Linked DNA regions of Homo sapiens: all the other regions are linked to region 2. The links are contacts of gene promoters, found by promoter capture Hi-C in blood cells and fetal thymus (Javierre and others, 2016). All regions are on one chromosome and are shown on one strand. Each heading gives the region's core, a stretch centred on a gene start or on the middle of the fragment in contact. The rest is flanking DNA. Distances are from core to core; before and after follow the strand shown. Region 1 holds the start of EIF3G (eukaryotic translation initiation factor 3 subunit G). Region 2 holds the start of TYK2 (tyrosine kinase 2). Region 3 holds the start of ANGPTL6 (angiopoietin like 6). Region 4 overlaps OLFM2 (olfactomedin 2).

The links. Contacts are between HindIII fragments. The CHiCAGO score rates a contact against its expected background, and 5 or more counts as called.
Region 1: a contact is called between the fragment with the promoter of EIF3G here and the fragment with the promoter of TYK2 in region 2, in 6 of 17 cell types (erythroblasts, monocytes, endothelial precursors and 3 more). The highest score is 7.4, in erythroblasts.
Region 3: the fragment with the promoter of ANGPTL6 here is called in contact with the fragment with the promoter of TYK2 in region 2 in 1 of 17 cell types (neutrophils); the score reaches 5.2 in neutrophils.
Region 4: a contact is called between a fragment that was not itself captured here and the fragment with the promoter of TYK2 in region 2, in 1 of 17 cell types (total CD8 T cells). The highest score is 5.0, in total CD8 T cells.

Annotation. Positions count from the first base shown.
Region 1 is chr19:10,118,649-10,124,586 of GRCh38, reverse strand. EIF3G (eukaryotic translation initiation factor 3 subunit G) reads left to right here and starts at 4,688. Exons shown (of 11, transcript NM_003755.5): 1 at 4,688-4,747; 2 at 4,887-4,933; 3 at 5,416-5,499; 4 at 5,631-5,719; 5 at 5,860-5,919. The coding sequence starts at 4,728. RefSeq lists enhancers at 4,430-5,185, 5,186-5,938. The HindIII fragment of the contact is 4,736 bases long and covers 2,283-5,938 here.
Region 2 is chr19:10,377,646-10,383,272 of GRCh38, reverse strand. It overlaps TYK2 (tyrosine kinase 2), which reads left to right and starts at 2,701. Exons shown (of 25, transcript NM_003331.5): 1 at 2,701-2,893; 2 at 3,494-3,658; 3 at 4,847-5,059. The coding sequence starts at 4,867. RefSeq lists enhancers at 2,072-2,735, 2,644-2,803. The HindIII fragment of the contact is 15,548 bases long and covers 1-5,627 here.
Region 3 is chr19:10,098,117-10,103,946 of GRCh38, reverse strand. ANGPTL6 (angiopoietin like 6) reads left to right here and starts at 1,269. Exons shown (of 6, transcript NM_031917.3): 1 at 1,269-1,379. RefSeq lists enhancers at 1,090-1,139, 1,210-1,259 and a silencer at 4,675-4,724. The HindIII fragment of the contact is 11,381 bases long and covers 1-5,830 here.
Region 4 is chr19:9,873,877-9,879,522 of GRCh38, reverse strand. The region is part of intron 1 of OLFM2 (olfactomedin 2); the gene reads left to right. Among named protein-coding and RNA genes, the nearest start is that of PIN1, 41 kb to the right of the region's middle. The HindIII fragment of the contact is 304 bases long and covers 4,101-4,404 here.

The sequences.
Region 1 (5,938 bases), core at 3,439-5,938, 260 kb after region 2:
AAGCCTCCTAGTCTGTGATATTTTGTTGTGAAAATGTGAGAAAAAGTAACTAATGTTAAGCTGGGTTTGCTCAATTCTGCTTTCCAGCGTAATTTCACAAAGCCCCTGACTCTGAGACACGTGAGACACGTCTGCGCAGCTCTACAGAACAAGGCTTTGAAGACAAAACAGGACAGAGCACAGGGCACACCATGTCCCTTGCCCGAGTCACTATATTCCTTAAATGAGTCTGGGCACGGTGGTTCATGCCTGTGATCCCAGCATTTTGGGAGACCAGGGCAAGGGCATCACCTTAGCCTGGGGAGGTTGAGGCTGCAGTGAGCTGTGATCGTGCCACTGCACTCCAGCCTGGGTGACAGAGAAAGACCCTGTCTCAAAAAAAAAAAAAAAAAAAAAAAGGCGTGCCAGGTGCGGTGGCTCATGCCTGTAATCCCAGCACTTTGGGAGGCCCAGGCAGGCGGATCACCTGAGGTCGGGAGTTCGAGACTACCCTGACCAATATGGAGAAACCCCCGTCTCTACTAAAAATACAAAATTAGCCGGGTGTGGTGGTGTGCATGCCTGTAATCCCAGCTACTCAGGAGGCTGAGGCGGGAGAACCGCTTGAACCCAGGAGGCGGAGGTTGCAGTGAGCTGAGATCGCACCACTGCACTCCAGCCTGGGCAATAGAGCAAGACTCCGTCCCCCAAAAAAAAAAGAAAAAAGAAAAAAAGGACCTGGGCCGGGCACGGGTGGGTCACACCTGTAATCCCAGCACTTTGGGAGGCCAAGGTGGGCGGATCACAAGGTCGGGAGATCAAGACCATCCTGGCTAACACGGTGAAACCCCATCTCGACTAAACATACAAAAATTAGCTGGGCGTGGTGGCGGGTGCCTGTAGTCCCAGCTACTCAGGAGGCTGAGGCAGGAGAATGGCGTGAACCCAGGAGGCGGAGCTTGCAGTGAGCCGAGATTGTGCCACTGCCCTCCAGCCTGGGCAACAGAGTGAGACTCCATCTCAAAAAAAAAAAAAAAAAAAAGGACCTGGTTCAAACCTTTTCCTACACATAAAATAACATCTAATGGGGTCAGGGTATTATGCTTCTGTAATCTATAACCAGATGTACTCTTGCACCCAAACCTTGATGTGGCTCACACCTGTGTAATCCCAGCACTTGGCTCATGGCAGCCTCACCTCCTGGGCTCCAGCGATTCTCCTGCCTCAGCCTCCTGAGTAGCTGGGATTACAGACATGCACCAACATGCTCAGGTAATTTTTGTATTTTTAATAGAGATGGGTTTTCACCACGTTTTCCAGGCTGGTCTTGATCTCCTGACCTCAGGTCATCTGCCTGCCTTGGCCTCCCAAAGTGCTGGGATTACAGACGTGAGCCACTGTGCTCAGCCTCTTTCTTTTTTAGAGACAGGGTTTTTGCTCTGTCACCCAGGCCAGAGTGTAATGGCACAATCATAGCTCACTGCAGCCTTGACCTCCTGGGCTCAAGCAATCCTCCTACCTCAGCCTCCCAGGTAGCTGGGACTACAGGCGTGCATTACCACACCCAGCAATTTTTTGTGTGTAGTGATGGGGTCTCAATGATGTTGCCTAGTCTGGTCTTGAACTCCTGGGCTCAAGAAATCTTTCTGCCTTGGCCTCCAAAACTGCTGGGATTATAGGCACGAACCACAGTGCCCAGCCAAGAAATATATTTATATGTTACATCTCACATATATTACATAAATGCATATTATATATTAATACATGTCCAAAAATAATATTTCCTTTCTTGGTGCCTTCTTTCCAAAGCATTCCTCATTAACAGGTTCTGATTCTTTCTTTCCAGGAAATGATTTGCATATATCTGCATATCTATGTGCTGTTGAAGATTTACACAAATTGGTTCCTGTAATATATGCCATTTTATATATCGCTTCCTCTTTTTTTTTTTTTTTTTTTTGAGATGGAGTCTTGCTCTGTCGCCCAGGCTGGAGTGCAATGGCGATTCTCCTGCCTCAGCCTCCCAAGTAGCTGGGATTACAGGCACCCACCACCATGGCCAGATTTTTTTTTTTTTTTTTTTGTATTTTTAGTAGAGACGGCATCTCACCATGTTGGCCAGGGGCTGGTCTTGAACTCCTAACCTCAGGTGATCCACCCACCTCGGCCTCCCGATTACAGGTGCCCAGCCTGTTTCCCTATAACATCTTTACTACCACGGGGTGATATCGAATTTTTGAAGCTTTGCCCAATCTGCTGGGTTGTTTGGATTTTGTGTTGCTCAGAGTACATTTGAGTAAGCTTGTAAAAATGTTTATCAGTCCTTTGGACCAGCTTCATATTTTCACCAATATAGCCAGGCCACCCTCCTGAAAGGCCACAGCGGCGTGCCTCTCTTTCCTGCTCTCCAGCTAATGTTTTCCCTTCCACTTGGCTCTCTACAGGCTTCTAGAATAATTTTTTCCACAAGAAAAGTTGGTGATATTCCAAACACTTGAGTGGCCTCCTCACTCACAACTCAGAGGATAAAAAAGCATAAACTTTTTTTTCCTGTCTTCTTATTTATTTTTCTCAGGGCATTCTCCCTTACAAGTTATTTTTTGTTTTGTTGCGTGTGTGTGTGTGCGTGTGTGTGTTTTTGAGACAGGGTCTCTCTCTGTTACCCAGGCTGAAGTACAGTCGCATGATCATGGCTCAACCTCCTGGGCTGAAGCTGTTCTCCCACCTCAGCCTCCTGAGTATCTGGGACTACAGGCACACAGAACTATGCCCAGCTGATTAAAAAAAAAAAATTTTTTTAAGGGCCGGGCGCAGTGGCTCACACCTGTAATCCCAGCACCTTGGGAGGCCGAGGTGGGCCCCCGTCTCTACTAAACCGTCTACTAAAAACACAAAAATTAGCACGGCGTGGTGGTGGTCATCTGTAATCCCAGCTACTCGGGAGGCTGAGGCAGGAGAATCACTAGAACCCGGAAGGCAGAGGTTGCAGTGAGCCGCGATTGCGCCGCTGCACTCCAGCCTGGGCGACAGAGTGAGACTCCATCTCAAAAAAAAAAAAAAAAGTTGTTTTTTAGAGATGGGGGGTCTCACTATGTGTTGCCCAGGCTGGTCGAATTCCAGGGCTGAAGTGATCCTTCTGCCTCAGTCTCCCAAAGTTCTGGGATTACAGGCGCGGGCCACCACACCCAGCTAATTTTTGTATTTTTAGTAAAGACGGGGTTTCGCCATATTGCCCAGGCTGGTCTCGAACTCCTGACTTCAAGAGATCTGCCCATCTTGGCCTCTCAAAGTGCTGGGATTACAGGCGTGAGCCACTGCGTCCGACATTGTCAAACGTTTTTTGTTCATTATCACCCTTCTTAGGAGAAAACCCGAATTATCCTAAAATTGAATTTACATCAACTAAATTAATTTCAATTTAATTACATTTAATATCTCCCTAAAGGCAGAAACTAAATACTTAGGGATAAATGCTGTCTGATAGAGCTGGCTTTGGAAGACCACAATATCTAAGATTTTTTTCCTCCCTGAGGACCAGTTTTTTCCCCTGGGGAGTCATCATGAATCACTTCGACTGAGGACGGTTGTGCTTAGAGCAAGGAGCTGAGCAATAAACAAGTAAATGCACAAAATTATACCGGAAAGCCAAGAATGCTACAAAGAAAAGAAGAGGGAGTGGCTGAGGGGAGGCCACTTGGCATCTGAATCATTGGGATCGGGAAAGAAGACAAGGAACAGTTTAAGCAAAAGGATTGTTTTCCCCGAACTTTGGTTTCTTTTTTCTTTCTTTTTCTTTTTTTCTTTTTTAGAGACAGGGGTCTCACTATGTTGCCCAGGCTTGTCTCAAACTCCTGGCCTCAAGCCATCCCCACGCCTTGGTCTCCCAAAGTGCGGGATTACAGGCAGGCGCCACTGCACCCAGTCTGAGCCTCAGTTTCTTCAGCTGTAAAATGGAAGTAATATCCTCCTCACCATGCTTCATATACAATAAGCACTCAATAAGTGAGCTTTATGATTATTATTATTTATTTTAATTTTACTTATTTTTCTGAGACGGAGTCTCACTCTGCAGCCCCAGGCTGGAGTGCAGTGGTGCGATCTCGGCTCACTGCAGCCTCCGCCTCCTGGGTTCAAGCGATTCTCCCGCCTCAGCCTCCCGAGTAGCTGGGATTACAGGTGCCCACCACCACGCCTGGCTAATTTTTTTTTTTTTTTTTTTTTTGAGACGGTGTCTCGCTCTGTCGCCAGGCTGGAGTGCAGTGGCGCGATCTCGGCTCACTGCAACCTCCGCCTCCCGGGTTCAAGCGATTCTCCTGCCTCAGCCTCCCGAGTAGCTGGAACTGCAGGCACGCACTACCACGCCCAGTTAATTTTTGTGTTTTTAGTAGTGACGGGGTTTCGCCACGTTGGCCAAGCTGGTCTCGAACTCCTTACCTCAGGTGATCCGCCCGCCTCGACCTCCCAAAGTGCGAGGATTACAGGCTTGAGCCACCTCGCCTGGCCTATTTTAATTTTAAAGGTTAATAGGACCAGCCCTGAAATCAGCCTCTGCCCCCGCTGGCCCTACTCTGGTACCAGCAGCGCCCAGTAGCATACACAGCCGCGTGCGCCTCCACCTCCGTCCGCAGGTGTCGCTGTGGGTGCCGCGGCTGGGCCCCTCTAGGCGGCGACGGCGGCACCGGAAGTCTCGTTTTCGCCCGCTTCCGCTCTCTGGCCGGGCTTGGGCTGCGTGGAGAATACTTTTTGCGATGCCTACTGGAGACTTTGAGTGAGTCGGCGATCGCGGAAAGGGGCACGGGAAGCGGTTGGGGTGCTCTGGGAAGTATTATGGGGCCTGGGTACGCCGAGGCTGCGGGAGCCGGGCCTGGCTGACTTAATCTTCGTTCCCCACACATTTGTTTCCGCAGTTCGAAGCCCAGTTGGGCCGACCAGGTGGAGGAGGAGGGGGAGGACGGTAAGTGTACACGGTCGCCCGGGGTATTCGCGGCCAGGCCCAAGCCGTGTGACTGCCGCCTGCTTCCATCTCCCAGTCTGGCACCGTGTACCCCGTCACGGTCTGCCCCTGCCCCGCGCCATCCTCCTTGGGACCCGCCTGTTGCCAACTCCAGGTGTTCCCCGGCGGGTCCCTCTTCCTCCCATGCCACTGCCTCCCAGCTGTTCCCCTCCAGGGAGGAAGTTGTAATCTCCCGTCTCCTGTTTCTCTACTGGCGCCTGGTTGGCTTCATGGCCTGGCACCCACCTTCCTACGAGGGATCTCCCATCCTTGCCACTCCGAGTCCCCACAGGGCCATCCCAGTGCGTTGCCTGGCCAGCCCTCTGCCCTTGGCCTGCCTTTCTCCGCTTTTGCTGTAGGCGTCATCCCAAAAGCCCTTCCATCGCAGCTGGGGAGCTCCTGCCCCTGGAGCTGACTCCTCCTTCCTACGCTGCCTTTTGCAGACAAATGTGTCACCAGCGAGCTCCTCAAGGGGATCCCTCTGGCCACAGGTGACACCAGCCCAGAGCCAGAGCTACTGCCGGGAGGTGAGTGAGGACTGCCGGGAGGTGAGTGAGGACTGCCACTCGGTGTCCGGGCTGCCTCTCCCTCCAGCCCTGCCGCTCCTGATCCCCATGACCCAGGGCTCAGTCTTTCTCTGTTTTTCCCCTTCTGCCAGCTCCACTGCCGCCTCCCAAGGAGGTCATCAACGGAAACATAAAGACAGTGACAGAGTACAAGATAGATGAGGATGGCAAGAAGTTCAAGGTGAGGGTGGGGGGTGCAGGGAGTGGGGACCCTTGTGCTTGGGGGCCCATAGACCGGAATGGGGTGGGGTGTGTTGAGGAGGTTGATAAAGGAGATCCCTTGGTCCCAGGAGCCTGACCCTTCTCCCCTCCCATCCTCAGATTGTCCGCACCTTCAGGATTGAGACCCGGAAGGCTTCAAAGGCTGTCGCAAGGAGGAAGGTGAGGCTCTTCTTCCCCA
Region 2 (5,627 bases), core at 1,452-3,951:
GCAGGAGAATTGCTTGAACCTGAGAGGCAGAGGTTGCAGTGAGCCAAGATTGCGCCACTGCACTCCAGCCTGGGCAACAGAGCAAGACTCTGTCTCTTTAAAAAAAAAAAAAAAGAAAGAAACTTCCCATGAAATGTCAGGTTGCAATAAGGACTCTGAAGAAAATACAGCAGAGCCCAGGAGGTCAAGTTGCCCAGGCTGGAGTGCAGTGGTGTGATCACGGCTCACTGTAGCCTCAACCTCCTGGGCTCAAGCAATCCTCCCACCTCAGCCTTCGGAGTAGCTGGGACTAACTAATTTTTTTTCCCCCCGAGATGGAGTCTCACTCTGTAGCCCAAGCTGGAGTGCAGTGGTGGGATCTCAGCCCACTGCAACCTCCACCTCCTGGGCTCAAGCGATTCTCATACTTCAGCCTTAGACTAATTTTTTTTATTTTGGGTAGAGATGGGGTCTTGCTATATTGCCCAGGTTGGTCTTGAACTGGGCCCAGACAGTACTCCTTCTTTAGCTCCCTGAAGTGCTAGGTTTATAGGGATGAGCCACTGCATCCAGCCAGGACAAGTCTCTATCAGCATTTTATTTTATTTTATTTTATTTTATTTTTGAGACAGAGTCTCACTCTGGCGCCCAGGCTGGAGTGCAGTGGCGCAATCTCGGCTCACTGCAAGCTCCGCCTCCCCGGTTCACGCCATTCTCCTGCCTCAGGCTGCCACTACGCCCAGCTAATTGTTTGTATTTTTAGTAGAGACGGGGTTTCACCGCCTTAGCCAGGATGGTCTCGATTTCCTGACCTCATGATCCGCCCACCTCGGCCTCCCAAAGTGCTGGGATTACAGGCGTGAGCCACTGTGCCCGGCCTCTATCAGCATTTTCTTTCTTTTTCTTTTTCTTTTTTTTTTTTTGAGACAGAGTTTAGCTCTTGTTGCCCAGGCTGAAGGGCAATGGTGTGATCTCGGCTCACTGCAACTTCTGCCTCCCAAGTTCAAGCGATTCTCCTGCCTCAGCCTCCTGAATAGCTGGGATTACAGGTGCCCACCACCATGCCCAGCTAATTTTTGCATTTTTAGTAGAGACAGGGTTTCACCATGTTGGCCAGTCTGGTCTTGAACTCCTGACCTCAGGTGATCCGCCCGCCTCCACCTCCCAAAGTGCTGGGATTACAGGTGTGAAAGAGACCATTCCCGATCTCTTTCAGCATTTTCATACTGAATGTCCACAGCTGCCCTGTGAGGAGGCTTTTTACCCATATTTTCTGACTCAGAGAGAAGCAGCCACATGTCCCTTGGCCATGGCAGTTAAGACCAACTCCATGGAGCTGGGTGTCTTAGCTCACATCTGTAATCCCAGCACTTTGGAAAGCCAAGGCAGGATGATTGCTTGAGGCCAGAAGTTCAAGACCAGCCTGGGCAACATAGCCAGACCCCATCTCTACAAAAATTTAAAAATTAGCCACAAAATTTAAAAATTAACAACAAAAGGGCCGGGTGCGGTGGCTCACGCCTGTAATCCCAGCGCTTTGGGAGGGTGGATCACGAGGTCAGGAGTTCGAGACCAGCCTGGCCAAGATGGTGAAATCCCATCTCTACTAAAAATACAAAAATTAGCCGGGCGTGGTGGCGGGCGCCTGTTGTCCCAGCTACCCAGGAGGCTGAGGCAGGAGAATCGCTTGAATCCGGGAGTCTGAGGTTGCAGTGAGCCGAGATCGCAGCATTGCACTCCAGCCTGGGCGACAAGAGCGAAACTCCATCTTAAAAAAAAAAAAAAAAAAAAGTGGAAGATGAGGAAGTTGATCAGACATCAAGGATGAGCGGATGACTTAATAGGCTTCTTTGCTAAGACTTGGCTGGGCAGGTGAAAGACAAAGTCGAGGAGTGGTTATGGTGTGGCACAGAAGAAGGGTCAGAGGACGGTCTTTGTTACCTCTTCATGCCTGAGTTTCTTCCTCTGTGAAATGGGGATAATAAGAGCCGCCATACAGGGAATTGCTGCTAGGATCAAATGAGATAATGTATGTGAAACGCTCTGGCTGTAGGCTTCTCAGCAAATGGGCACGACTTGCGGAGTGGGGATTTGAATTCACGTCTGGCGGGATGTCCAAGCTGCTACCCTGACCGCTAGGGAGCTTCAGAGGACAGGGCTGCAGGTGATCAGGAAGAGGACTGGGGCAGGTGGGCGAGGAATGCCTCCCAGGAGTGAAGGAGGGGGAATTCTAGTCAGCAGGATGGAGTCGGCCAGGTAGAAACGAGGGAAAGGAGACAGGACCGGATGGAACGGGGAAGCCAAAGGGCAGGGCGTCGGAGGGTTGAATGGTGGCCGGTGCAGCTTTGAACACCGAGGTGAGGACATGCAGCTGTGTCCTAGGGTCAGGACCGTACACGCCTGACCCAATTCCACAGCACGGAGGGGAACTCCAGGATCCGGCCGCGTTGCCCACACACTTCGCTCTCCCTCCCGCCTCTCGCAAGCCCCTCCCCCGTCTCCGTCCACCGAGTGCCAGCCAATAGCAGAAGCGACAGCGCATCTGGGTGCCGACTCAGCCAATCGCGGCTGAGTGACGAATGAGCCCCAGGACCAATGAGAGTGCCGCCACCATGGCAAAAAAAAAAAAATCCAATGGTGACGAGCAGGGAGAACAGAGCAGCTGCCAATGGGCGTGTGCGTTTCAGGCGGCCAATGGGAGGAGGCGTCTCGGCGGGGGACAAGCAGTAGCTACCCGCGGGAGCGGGGAGGGGTCCGGGTTCGAGCTTGTGTTCCCCCGGAAGGGTGAGTCTGGACGCGGGCGCGGAAGGAGCGCGGCCGGAGGTCCTCAGGAAGAAGCCGCGGGGACTGGCTGCGCTTGACAGGCTGCACTTGGATGGGAGCACCTGGTGCCTCGGGACTGCTCCGATGCCCGGTGGGTGCACATCCCAGTTCCCGCCGTTGCCGGCCGGGTTTAGAGGTTTTGGGGGGAGGACATGGGGGCGTGCAGCCTTCCCAGTTGCAAACTTCACTCCGACCCTGTCTTCAAAGCTGGGTCTGGGTCCAGTGGGGACGAGAAAGGAGGAAGGAGGAAGTAGGCTCCGCGAAAGCCCCATCCCCGGGATCTCATCTATAACATGAATAGGTATTAATGGCAAAGGCTAATTAAGCGCTTACTGTATACCAGGCACTTTCTCTGCCTCCTCGCGTTAAATCCTCCCAGCAGCCTTTTGAGGTAGACACTGTTACATGCCCATTTTCCAGATGAGGAAACCAGCAACATGGGTGGAAGTGACAGCCCCTCCACTTCCATACTGGCGCCCTCAGGAGGCTCAGGCCCTGGATTGGGGGGATGGAGCTGGACATAAACTCTCCTAGGCTTTGGGGAGTCAACAGGGACTGAGGTCACTCATGGGGGTAAATGTGGGAGAGGAGAATTGTGGCCTGAAAGAGGCCATCACCACGATGAAACTAATAACAATTATGTTATTCTTGTTTTGGTCATATTTGTTCTTTTTGTGTGTGCCTGAATCAGGGTCTGTGCTGAATGTGTAATATGCGGAACTATATTGAAACATTACAACCATCTTTTGATGGCAACACCCTGAGGACCTCCCTTTTCCAGATGGGGAAACTGAGGCCCAGAATTGCTAAGTGGCTTGCTTGAGTTGACACAGGGAGCTCCAGGACTCACCCTCAGGTATGTTTGACCACATCTGCCTGTCTGGTTATTTTGGGGAGGTGTGTTAAGAGCAGATTTTTATTTTACTTTTTATTTATTTATTTATTTATTTATTTATTTATTTATTGTATTTTAGTAGAGATGGGGTTTCACCATGTTGGTCAAGATGGTCTCAATCTCCAGACCTCGTGATCTGTCCGCCTTGGCCTCCCAAAGTGCTGGGATTACAGTCATGAGCCACCGCGCCTGGCCCTTTTTATATATTTTTATTACTTATTTATTTATTTATTTATTTATATTTTTAGAGTCAGGGTCTCACTCTGTCACCCAGGCTGGAATGCAGTGGTGCGATCACTGCTCACTGCAGCCTCCAACTCCTGGGCTCAGGAGATCCTCCCACTTCAGCCTCCCGAGTAGCTTGGAGTACAGATGTGCACCCCCACGCCTGGCTAAATTTTAAAAATTTCTTGTAGAGGCCGGGCACAGTGGCTCACGCCTGTAATCCCAGCACTTTGGGAGGCCGAGGCGGGTGGATCACCTGAGGTCAGAGGTTCAAGACCAGCCTGGCCAACATGGCAAAACCCTGTCTCTACTAAAAATACAAAAATTAGCCCGGTGTGGTGGCAGGCGCCAGCTACTCAGGAGGCTGAGGCAGGAGAATCACTTAAACCCAGGAGGCAGAGGTTGTGGTGAGCAAGATTGTACCATTGCACTCCAGCCTGGGCAACAAGAGTGAAACTCTGTCTCAAAAATAAGATAAGATAAGATAAGATAAGATAAGATAAGATAAGATAAGATATAAAATAAAACGTCTTGTAGAAACAGGGTCTTGCTATATGGCCTAGGCTGGTCTCGAGCTCCTGGGCTCAAGCAATCCTCTTGCCTCAACATCCCAAAGTCCTGGGATTAGAGGCGTGAGCCACTGTACCTGGCCAGAGCAGATTTTTATATCTGTGTCAATTTGTGGAAAGAGAGGAGGGTTCAGTGTTATTGTTGATGAGAGATCTAGGTGGGGATGCATACCCCAACCCTGTCCAATAAATGTGGAAAACGAGACTCAGAGAGGGAATCGGGTCTCTAATGTCATGCCAAGATGGGAGCCCAGAATCTTCCCCTCAGGCCTTAGCTGGGGTGGGTGGAAGGTTGAAGAGCTAACAGGGGTCTCTGGGCTGAGACTTGGGAGCTGACAGATTGTCCCCTTTCCAGCTGAGCCACCTGCCGGGAGCATGCCTCTGCGCCACTGGGGGATGGCCAGGGGCAGTAAGCCCGTTGGGGATGGAGCCCAGCCCATGGCTGCCATGGGAGGCCTGAAGGTGCTTCTGCACTGGGCTGGTCCAGGCGGCGGGGAGCCCTGGGTCACTTTCAGTGAGTCATCGCTGACAGCTGAGGAAGTCTGCATCCACATTGCACATAAAGTTGGTGAGTCTGGGGCGTTGGCACCATGGGGACTGGGGTGGGTGTGCAAGCAGCAGCTGGGCCCCATCCATCCGTCTATCCACCCACCCACCCATCCACCCACCCATCCACCCACTCATCCATCCATCCATCCATCCACCCATCCACCCACCCATCCACCCTCCCAACCACCCATCCATCCACCCACCCACCCATCCATCCACCCATGCATCCATCCATCCTCCCATCCACCCATCCACCCACCCATTCACCCACCCATTCACCCATCCACCCACCCTTTCACCCATCCACCCATCCACCCATTCATCCACCCACCCACCCACCCATCCATCCACCCACGCATCCATCCACCCACCCACCCACCCATCCATCCACCCACGCATCCATCCATACATCCACCCACCCACTCATCCATCCACCCACCTATCCACCTATCCATCCACCTACTCACCCACCCATCCACCCACCTATCCACCCACCCACCCATCCACCCATCCATCCACCCACCCATTCATCCATCTATCCATCCATCCACCCATCGATCCATCCATACCCACCCATTCATCCATCC
Region 3 (5,830 bases), core at 20-2,519, 280 kb after region 2:
AAATTTTTGTATTTTTAGTAGAGACGGGGTTTCACCATCTTGGCCAGGCTGGTCTCGAATTGCTGACCTCGTGATCTGCCCACCTTGGCCTCCCAAAGTGCTGGGATTACAGGCGTGAGCCACCGCGCCCAGCCTTACATTTTTATTTCTAATTATAAAATCCAGATTAATCCAAAAAACATAAATCACATGTAACTGAGGTAGGGTTTTCACTTTAAGAATATATTGTTTCTATCACAATTTAAAAATTTACAGCTGTGTCTTTTATATTTATTTTTTATTTTAATTAATTAATTCCTCACTTTATTATTATTTATTTATTATTTATTTATTTATTTATTTATTTATTTTTGAGATGGAATTTCAGTCTTGTCGCCCAGGCTGGAGTGCATGCGGTTGCTCGATCTCGGCTTACTGCAACCTCCACCTCCTGGCTTCAAGCAATTCTCCTGCCTCAGCCTCCCGCGTAGCTGGGATTACTGGCGCATGCCACCATGCCCAGCTAATTTTTGTATTGTTAGTAGAGACGGGGTTTTAGCATGTTGGCAAGGATGGTTTCGAACTCCTGACCTCAGGTAATCCACCTGCCCCGGCCTCCCAAAGTGCTGGCTTTCAGGCATGAGCCACTGCACCCAGACTTTCGCTGGGTGTTAATGTGTGCGTGCGTGCAAATGTGTGTGTGTGTGTTTGTGTCCACTCTGTTATGTGCCCATATGTGTGTGACAGCTGTGGTGTACATGTGTGAGTTTCTGAGTCAAGCTACCTTGGCTGGCTCCCATCCTGGTCTCTTTTTGGCTGTGTGACCGCAGGCAAGTTGCTTACCCTCTCTGAGCCTCAGTTTTCCCTGCTGTAAAATGAGGGTACATACAGAATCCAGCTCAGGTTGTAAGGATCAAATACGTAAAAGGTGTGGAGAGTTTAGAGCCAAGCCCTACACACGGTAAGTCCCCAGTGATGTTCCTCTTTCTATGTGTGGTGTGTGCGTGTCTGGGGCTGGGATCACGCCTGGCTGCCCCAGGGCCTGCAGCCTCCCACGCTCTGGGCTCTGCAGTGGAGGGTGTGGGGGAAAGGGAGGGATGTCCAGGACACTGACCTGTGTTATCAGGCTCTGGTGGCCTGGGCAGGGGGGTCTGGCAATTCTGTCTCATTTCTCATTCGGGAAATGCTAAATATTTATAGTTTGGGCTCCTGGGCCCAGCATCCCAGCTCCACTCCCAGGCTCTGGGGGCTGGGGAGTGGTTACCAAGCCTCCTCTCTCCTTCTGTCCCACTGCCCTCTCCCCGTCTCTAGCTCAGAGGCCCCACTGGACCCTCGGCTCTTCCTTGGACTTCTTGTGTGTTCTGTGAGCTTCGCTGGATTCAGGGTCTTGGGCATCAGAGGTGAGAGGGTGGGAAGGTAGGTGGAGGTTGATTCTCACTGTGGGGAAACTCCGACCACAGCTTGGCTTGGGGGCCCCCAGGCCACCCCGCCACCCCAGGCTGAGAGTGTAAAAGGCAGCGGGTGTTATACACACGTCCCAGTTCTGGGGGGTTGCTCAATCTCTGTTGTGGGGGGTGGGGCATGTCAGTGATCGGGGACAAAGAGAGGACCCTACCCCCGGATCCTTGTGAGCCCCTGCTTGGTGTCTGAGTCCAGAAGTAAATGTGGCCATCTCCAGCCCAGAACCCTCCATGGCTCCTGCCTGACTCAGAGTAAAACCCAAGTCCTCCTCCGGGCCCACAGGACCCTTCACACTTTGCCCTGACACTTCTTACCTCCTCCTGCTTCCCCCTTCTCTCTTCCGGCCTCATAGACATTTCTGCCATTTCTTTTTTTTTTTTTTTTTTTTTTTGAGACAGAGTCTCGCTCTGTCACCCAGGCTGGAGTGCAGTGGCGCGATCTCAGCTCACTGCAAGCTCCGCCTTCCGGGTTCACGCCATTCTCCTGCCTCAGTCTCTGGAGTGGCTGGGGCTACAGGCGCTCGCCACCATGCCCGGCTAATTTTTTTTTTTTTTTTTGTATTTTTAGTAGAGACGGAATTTCACTGTGTTAGCCAGGATGGTCTCGATCTCCTGACCCCGTGATCCACCTGCCTTGGCCTCCCAAGTGCTGGGATTACAGGCGTGAGCCACCGCACCTGGCCTTTTTTTTTTTTTTTTTTTTGAGCCTTGCTCTGTCGCCCAGGTTGGAGTGCAATGGCGCAATCTCTGCTCACTGCAACATCGGCCTCCTGAGTTCAAGTGACTCTCCCACCTCAGCCTCCTGAGTAGTAGCTGGGATTACAGGCATGCATTACCATGCCCAGCTAATTTTTGTATTTTTAGTAGAGACGGGGTTTCACCATGTTGGCCAGGCTGGTCTTGAACTCTCGACCTCAGGTGATCCTCCCGCCTCGGCCTCCCAAAGTGCTGGGATTACAGGCGTGAGCCACCGTGCCTGGCCCCTTTCTGCCATTTCTTGGGTGCAATCTCCGGGCCTTTGCACCTGCTGTTCTCTCTGCCTGGAATGCTCTTCCTCTTCTCTCTCTTCCATCAGGTCTTTGTGAAAGTGTCCCTTATTCTTTATTTTATTTTTATTTTTATATTTAGTAGAAATGGACTTTCACCATATTGGCCAGGCTGGTCTCAAACTCCTAGGCTCAAGCAATCCTCCTGCCTTGGCCTCCCAAAGTGCTGAAATTACAGGCATGAGGCACTGTTCCAGTCAAGTGTCACTTCTTCTGTGAGGCCTTTCCTGACTCCTCTATTTTATTTTTTTTTGAGACAGAGTCTCGCTCTATTGCCCAGGCTGGAGTGCAGTGGTGCAATCATGGCTCACTGCAACCTCTGCCTTCCGGGTTCAAGTGATTCTTGTGTCTCAGCCTCCTGAGTAGCTGAGACTACAGGCGCGTGCCACTACGCCTGGCTAATTTTTGTATTTTCAGTAGAGACAGGGTTTCGCCACGTTAGCCAAGCTGGTCTCAAACTCCTGGCCTCAAGTGATCCTCCCACCTCAGCCTCCCAAAGTGCTGGGATTACAGGCACCTCGGCCTCCCAAAGTGCTGGGATTACAGGCACCTCGGCCTCCCAAAGTGCTGGGATTACAGGCGTGAGTCAGCACACCCAGTCCTGACTCCTCTATTAAATGTCCCCCACCTCCGGGACTGTCACCCCCTTGCCTGTTCCATTTTTCTCCTAAGCACGATTACCCTCTGACCTACCTAGCGGCTGTTTGACTTATTTCTCTGTTCTCCCAACTTGAATGTCAGCTCTGCAAGGGCAGGAATTTTGTCTGTTTGGGTTAAGGCTGTGTCCTCATTGCCTAAAACAGCATCCCTGGCACACAATAGGCACTCAAGGTGTCTGTGGTTGAATGCATGAATGAGGCAATGTGTGTGTGAGATGGAGACCCTCGGGATATGTGCTTGTGCAGGCATCAGGAAGCATAGGTTTAGGGCCAGTGTGGTTGCTCACATCTGTAATTTCAGCACTTTGGGAGTCCAAGGTGGGAGGATCACTTGAGCCTGGGAGTTTGAGACTAGCCTGGGCAACACAGTGAGACCCCCTCCCTACAAAAAAGTAGCTGGGCATGGTGGTGCGCACCTGTAGTTCCAACCACTCAGGAGGCTGAGGCAGGAGGACCACTTGTGTGCAGGAATTGGAGGCTACAGTGAGCTATGATTGCTCCACTGCACTCCAGCCTGGGCAACAGAGCACGACTCTCTCTTTTTTTTCTTTTTTTTTGAGATGGAGTCTCACCCAGGTTGCCTAGGCTAGAAGGCAGTGGTGCGGTCTCAGCTCACTGCAACCTCTGCCAGGTTCAAGCCGTTCTTCTGCCTCAGCCTCCCGAGTAGCTGGGATTACAGGCATGCGCCACCACGCCCAGCTAATTTTTTGTACTTTTAGTAGAGACGGGATTTCACCTGTTGATCAGGCACCCTGTCTCTACTAAAAATACAAAAATTAGCTGGGTGTGGTGGCGCATGCCTGTAATCCCAGCTTCTTGGGAGGCTGAGGCACAAGAATCACTTGAACCCGGGAGGTGGAGGTTGCAGTGAGCTGAGATTGCAGAGCGAGACTCCGTCTAAAAAAAAAAAAAAGAGGGCGTGGGGGAGAGAGAGAGAGAGAGAGAGAGAAAGAGAGAAAGAGAGAGAGAGAGAGGGAGAGACAGAGAGAGAGAGAGCTTGTATATGGAGGTACAACCCTAAATCTGCTGTTCAAGGAGCGCTGCTGAGACTTGAATAAGGATAGGAAGGGAATGATGTTAAGTTGTGAACAATGTTCCAGGCTGCAAAAACAGCAGGTACAAAGGACCTGAGGCTGGAACTTGCTTCGTGTGAGGAAGGGCCTGGGAGGAGGGCAGAAGGGGATATGGCAGATAGCACAAGTTTTTTTTTTTTTTTTTTTTTTTTTGAGATGGAGTCTTGCTCTGTTGCCCAGGCTAGAGTGCAGTGGCACAGTCTCGGCTCACTGCAAGCTCTGCCTCCCGGGTTCAAGCCATTCTCCTGCCTCAGCCTCCCGAGTAGCTGGGACTACAGGCAGCCGCCACCACGCCTGGCTACTTTTTTTGTATTTTCAGTAGAGACGGGGTTTCACTGTGTTAGCCAGGATGGTCTCGATCTCCTGACCTCGTGATCCGCCCGCCTCCGCCTCCCAAAGTGCTGGGATTACAGGCGTGAGTCACCAAGATAGCGCAACTTTTTATGGATCATGGGTGGATTTGGGCTTTTCCTCTAAAGGAGGTGGGAGCCAAGAAGGATTCAGGGCAGAGGAGGGAGGGAGGGACGTGAACTGACTCAGATGTTCACAGGCGCCCTCTGGCTGCTGTCAGAGAGACTAGACCTGGGGTTGAGGATGGAAATCCAGAGAGCAGGGAGGCAGCTGCTGTCATCCAGATGGTGTCTTGAGCTGGGAATTCAGGGAGGGTCTGGGGGCAGTGGGGAGTAGCGGAGACGTGGAGGAATTCAGGATCTAAGCAGAAGAGCAGACGGGTCTGGCTGATGGATTAGATCTGCTGAGATGGGTTGGATCTGCTGGGGTTTTGGTCTGAGGACGTGGAAGATGGGGTTTCCAATATCCGACGGATGGGAAGGCAGTTAGTGAGACGTTTCCCTCACCCCACCTCACCTCCTTGCACCCTGCTCCCTTTGCTATTTTTTTTTTTTGAGACAGTGTTTTGCTTTTGTTGTCCAGGCTGGAGTGCGGTGGTGCGATCTCGGCTCACTGCAACCTCCACCTCCCAGGTTCAAGTGATTCTCCTGCCTCAGCCTCCCAAGTAGCTGAGATTTCAGGCCTGTACCACCACACCCGGCTAATTTTGCACTTTCAGTAGAGATGGGGTTTCACTATGTTGGTCATGCTAGTCTCGAATTCCTGACCTCAGGTGATCCACCCACCTTGGCCTCCCAAACTGCTGGGATTACAGACATGAGCCACAGCACCCAGCCTCCCTTCGCTTTTGCTTTAACCTCTCCCAGGTTGCTTTAATACATCAGGCAGGGTCCAGTCTCAGAGCTTTTGCACTTAGATCTGCTCCTCCACCAGGCCTTCCCTTTAGGCAACCCCCTCTCAAGCTGCCCCTGCACAGACCTGCGTATTCTTTACCTAGTTTGCTGTTTTTTGTTATTGTTTTGTTTTAAGAGACAGGGTTTGCTCTCGTCCCCAGGCTGGAGTGCAATGCTGCGATCATAGCTCACTGCAGCTTCAAACTCCTGGCCTCAATCGATCCTCCCGCCTCTGCCTCCCAAAGAGCTGGGATTACAGGTGTGAGCCACTGAGCCCAGATTTACAAAATAGTTTAAAAATTAGCAGGGCATGGTGGGTCACACCTGTAATCTCAGCATTTTGGGAGGCAGAGGTGGATCACTTGAGGC
Region 4 (5,646 bases), core at 3,003-5,502, 510 kb after region 2:
TGAAAGGGAAGCAGGCGGGTTTTACACGGCCAGAGCAGGAGCAAGAGAGAGACTGGGGGAGGTGCTACACACGTTTAAACAACGAGAGCTTGGCTGGGTACGGTGGCTCACGCCTGTAATCCCAGCACTTTGGGAGGCCGAGGGGGGCAGATCACCTGAGATTGGGAGTTGGTGACCACCCTGACCAACATGGAGAAACCCCGTCTCTACTAAAAATACAAAATTAGCCAGGCGTGGTGGCGCATGCCTGCAATCCCAACTACTTGAGAGGCTGAGGCAGGAGAATCGCTTGAACCCGGGAGGCGGAGGTTGCAACGAGCTGAGATTGCGCCATTGTACCTGGGTAACAAGAGTGAAACTGTCTCAAAATAAATAAACAAACAAACAGCGAGATCTCATAAGAACTCACTCCTTATCAGGAGAACAGCAAGGGGAAACCTAGCCCCATGATCCAGTCACCTCCCACTGGGCCCCTATTCCAGCATTGGGGATTACAATTTGACATGAGATTTGAACGGGACACAAATCCAGACCCTATCACTCAGCCACTCAGGAGGCCGAGGTGGGAGGATCGCTTGAGTCCAGGAGGTTGAGGCTGCAGTGAGCCATGACTGCGCCACTGTGCTCCAGCCTGGGCTACCGAGTCTCAAACAAGCAAACAAAAAATTCAGGCTCTGGAGCCCAGAGATAGAGCCCAGGTCTTCCAGTGTTCTGTGCTTCCCTGCATCGTGGCACTTATCACACCCTGTTATAATTGCCTCTTCCTTTTTCTTTCTTCCTTGCTTATCTGTGAATGTGGGGAAGCTGTGGAGGGTGCTGTCCTATCTGGAAAACAGCCACTGGTATTTCCTGAGCACTCTCTCTGAACCAGGGCTTGAAGCACTTCCGTTGTATTAGCTCGCTGGAGCCTCAAAATGCCGACAGGGTCATCTCATCACCTACTGCCAGTTTCCCTGTTTGAGAAATGAAACTGATGCCAGGTGCTCATGTCTGTAATCCCAGCTACTAGGGAGGCTGAGACAGGAGAACTGCTTGAACCTGGGATGTGGAGGCTGCAGTGAGCTGAGATTGTGCCATTGCACTCCAGCCCGGGTGACAAGAGTGAAACTCCATCTCAAAAAAAAAAAAAAAAAAAAAAAAAGAGAGAAATGAAACTGAGGCTCAGAGAGAGTCACTTGTCCAGGGTAACACAGAGCCAAGATTGAAGCTCAGATGGTCCAGCCCACCTTTCTGTGTTCCCAGTCAGCACCGATTTGCTTATTTTTATTCCATAGGCAATTCTGTCACACTCCCTTGAATATCACGTTGCGTATGTGTCCCGGCCTGTTTGCTGTTACTATAACAGACTACCACAGATTGGGTAATTTATAAAGGGCTGGGTGTGGTGGCTCACGCCTGTAATCCGAGCACCTAGGCAGCCAAGGTGGAAGGGTTGCTTGAGCCCAGGAGTTCAAGACCCACCTGGGCAATGTGGCCAGACCCCATGACTACACAGATTTTTTAAATTAGCCAGATGTGGTGGCACGTGTGTAGTCCCAGCTACTCAGGAGGCTAAGGCAGGGGGATCGACTGAGCCTGGAATGTTGAGACTGTGATGAGTCAGGATCGCATCATTGCACTCCAGCCTGGGCAACAGAACCAGACCTCATCTGTAAAATAATCAATTAATTAATCTTTCTTAAAAAAAAAAATTTATTTTTCCAGTTCTGGAGACTGGGAAGTCCAAGGGCATAGCACCAGCCTCTGGCAAAGGTTATCCCATGGCCAAAGGGCTGAAGGCAAAAGTGACACAGAGAGAGGAAATTGGACCAAAATCATTCTTGTTGTCAATAGCCCACTGCCATGATAACTAACCCACTTCCCTGATAATGGCATTAATTCACCTAACCTCATCTTTAAAGGTGCTACCTCTCAACACTGTTACTTTTTTTATTTTTATTTTATTGTATTTATTTATTTATTTATTTATTTATTTATTTATTTATTTTTGAGACAGAGTTTCTCTCTTGTTGCCCAGGCTGGAGTGCAATGGCACAATCTTGGCTCACCGCAACCTCCGCCTCCCGAGTTCCAGCCATTCTCCTGCCTCGGCCTACAGAGTAGCTGGGATTACAGGCATGTGCCACCACGCCTGGCTAATTTTGTATTTTTAGTAGAGACGGGGTTTCTCCATGTTGGTCAGGCTGGTCTTGAACTCCTGACCTCAGGTGATCTGCCCGCCTCAGCCTCCCAAAGTGCTGGGATTACAGGTGTGAGCCACCGCACCTGGCCATATTTTTTTTTTTTTTTTTTTGAGATGGAGTCTCACTCTGTCGCCAAGGCTGGAGTGCAGTGGCACCATCTCGGCTCATCGCAACCTTCACCTACCTGGTTCAAGCGATTCTCATCCCTCAGCCTCCCGAGTAGCTGGGATTACAGGCGCCCGCCATCATGCCCAGCTAAATTTTGTATTTTTACTAGAGGCAGGATTTCACCATGTTGGCCAGGCTGGTCTCGAACTCCTGGCCTTAAGTGATCTGCCCCCCTTGACCTCCCAAAGTGTTGGGATTACAGGTGTGAGCCACCGCACCCAGCCTCTGAAGTAGCTATTCTTCTGTTTCTTTACTTCTCTAATAAACTTGCTTTCACTTTAAATAAATAAATAAATAAAATGGATTACGTTTCCAACACATGAATTTTGCGGGGACACATTCAAACCATAACATTACGTTAAGCCATTCTGATATATTAACAACCACCTCATGACATCAGTACTATTCTTAGCTATATACTCTAACTGGGGGAACGGAGGCACAGGATGGTTAAGTCAGTAGCCCAAGGTCACACGGCAGACCTGAGGCTCGAACCTAGGAGACCCTTAATGACCACGTCCTCCCACCTCCACTGGGGGAATTGAATGCATTTGAGACTCATTTCTTTGAAACCCTGGAATGTGTGTTGGAGGTGTAGCCAAGGGATAAAGGGTTTGGACCCAGAGTGGACTTGCCACCCGCAGGGGCGCATGGGGACCTAGCAGGAAAGAGCCCTTGGAGGTGGGTTTTCAGGAGTCCTGGTACCTGGCTGTCTGTTATTGGCAGGTTGATCAATGTCACCTCCTGGCTGTGCTGTCCAGCCTTCGAGGCCTCCCTCCAGCCGCTGCCTGGGGGACTCGCAGCAAACACTTCCATTTTGTATAGGGGTGTCCCTGGCTATCGGTGTGAAATGCCTCAGCCAGCCATGGAAGTTAAATGTCCCCCATGGCGACCTTTTCCACACGCGGACGGATTGATTTCAGAAATCCATCCCCGGCCAAAGCGCCCAGCCCCAGCCCCTACCACGGGCGCTGATGGCTGCAAATTTATATCCAGGCCAGAAATTGAATTCCTGTAAGTTGAAGGAACTATCTGAAAAGCTCACCCAGGCTCATTTTTACGTCTGAAAAACTTCAGGCAAGAGATTAAATTGGGGCCAGTGTCTCCCAGCAGTAGGGACCTCGGTGGCGGGGAGATGACCTCGCTGAAGACAGCTTCTTTAGATTCTCTGCCTTCAGCTTGGCCTCCTGGGGCTGAGAAATAAAAAGCAGTGAGACCTGCAGGCCTGCATGGCTAAAGGGATTCCCACTTCTGACCAGCTAATGTTAGAAAAGGGACATGCTCTGTGTACCCAAGGCAGGCTTTTGGTCCCCGTGGTAGCTATTGAGCTATTCAGAGGGACAGGAAATAAAACTGCTAATTCAGGCCAGGTGCAGTGGCTCATACCTGTAATCCCAGCACCTTGGGGAGGCCGAGGTGGGAGGATTGCTTGAGCTCAGGAGTTTGAGACAGGGCGATACCCTGTCTCTGTGAGAAAAAACAAACAAAAAACAAAAGAAAAACAACAACAACAAACAACCAGATGTGCTGGTAAGTGCCTGTGGTCCCAGCTACCCGGGAGGCTGAGGTGGGAGGATCACCTGAGCCAGGGAAGTCGAAGCTGCAGTGAGTCGTGATCGTGCCACTGCACTCCAGCCTGTCTCAAAAAAAAAAAAAAGCTGCTAATTCATCTTCATCCCCGGCCAGGCCCCTGCACCAGCTCCTAAGGCCACCTCAGTCCCAGCAAATTGGCGAGGTTCTAATTAAGCTTCCTTGGGCTGTGGCAGAGAGGACATCAGAGTCTGTGGATCATTCCAGAACCCTCGCTCTTCCCTGCCCCCTGCCAGAGGCATGAAGGCTGGGGAAGGAGAAGCAGATAAATCAAGTGACAGCTCCGTGAAGGAAGAAACCCCATCTTGCTAGAAAGATCTCTCTCGCCTGCCTTGAAAAAATGAGACTGATGCAAATGCGGCTGCTTCTCTTTGGTACAAAAGCCCTTAAATATTAAAGAAATGAATCCTTGATGTCTACAAAGAAAGGATCAAAAACAAATCTTTCTGAAAGGAGAAAAGCTTTTATTTCGCCGTGAACTCTTCTAGATCTAGCCTCTGGCAGGGATGCCTGCGGAACAGGGAGCACAGGAAGATAAAGCTCTCAGTGATGGCCATTCAATATTTGTTCATTTAGGAAGCGTCTGAAGCAGCTACTGCATTGGGTTACAGGCTGGGGAAACGTCCAGCAAAGTGAGGCCACAGTTCCTGCCCTCAAAAGCCATTAGGGGACGGGTGCAGTGTCTCATGCCTGTAATCCCAGCACTTTGTGAGGCCGAGGCAGGAGGATTACTTGAGCTCAGGAGTTCAAGACCAGTCTGGGCAACACAGCAAGACCTTGTCTCTAAAAAATAAAATAAAAGACTGGGTGCGGTGGCTCATGCCTGTAATCCCAGCACTTTGGGAGGCCAGGGTGGGTGGATCACTTGAGGTCAGCAATTTGAGACCAGCCTGGCCAACATGGTGAAACCCCATCTCTACTAAAAATAGAAAAGTTAGCCAGGCATGGTGGTGCACACCTGTAGTCCCAGCTACTTGGGAGGCTGAGGCAGGAGAATCGCTTGAACCCAGGAGGTAGAGGTTGCAGTGAGCCGAGATGGCTCCACTGCACCCCAGCCTGGGCGACAGAGGGAGACTCTATCTCAAAAATAAATAAATAAAATAAAAGCCGGTGGTGGCTGGGCATGATGGCTTATGTCTGTAATGCCACCACTTTGGGAGGCTTAGGTGGGAGGGTCACTTAAGGTCAGGAGTTTGAGTCTAGCCTGGGCAACATAGTGAGACCCCCATCTCTCTTAAAAAAAAAAAAAAAAAGGCCAGTGGGGCATTCTCCAAAACTCCCTGGCCAGTAATCCTCAAAACTGTCAAGGTCAGAAAAAACAAGACAGAAACGTCATAGACCAGATAAGTCTAAAGACATGTGATAACCACTGAGTGTAACGTGGGATCCTGCATTAGATTCTGGAACAGAAAAAGCACTCAAGTGGGAAAACTGGGGAATTTGAATAAAGTCTAGAGTTTAGTTAATAGTAATGGATGCACGGATGTTGATTTCTTAGTTGTGACAAGTGTATCATGGTTATGTAAGATGTAATAACAGGGAAGTCAGGATGAGAGGTACACAGGAGCTCTCTGTATTATTGTTGTAACTTTTCTGTAAACCTAAAATAATTCCAAAAGTAAAAGTTGATTAGGTAGGCATGGTGGCCCACACCTGTAATTTCAGCGCTTTGGGAGACCAAGATGGGAAGATCGCTTGAGGTCAG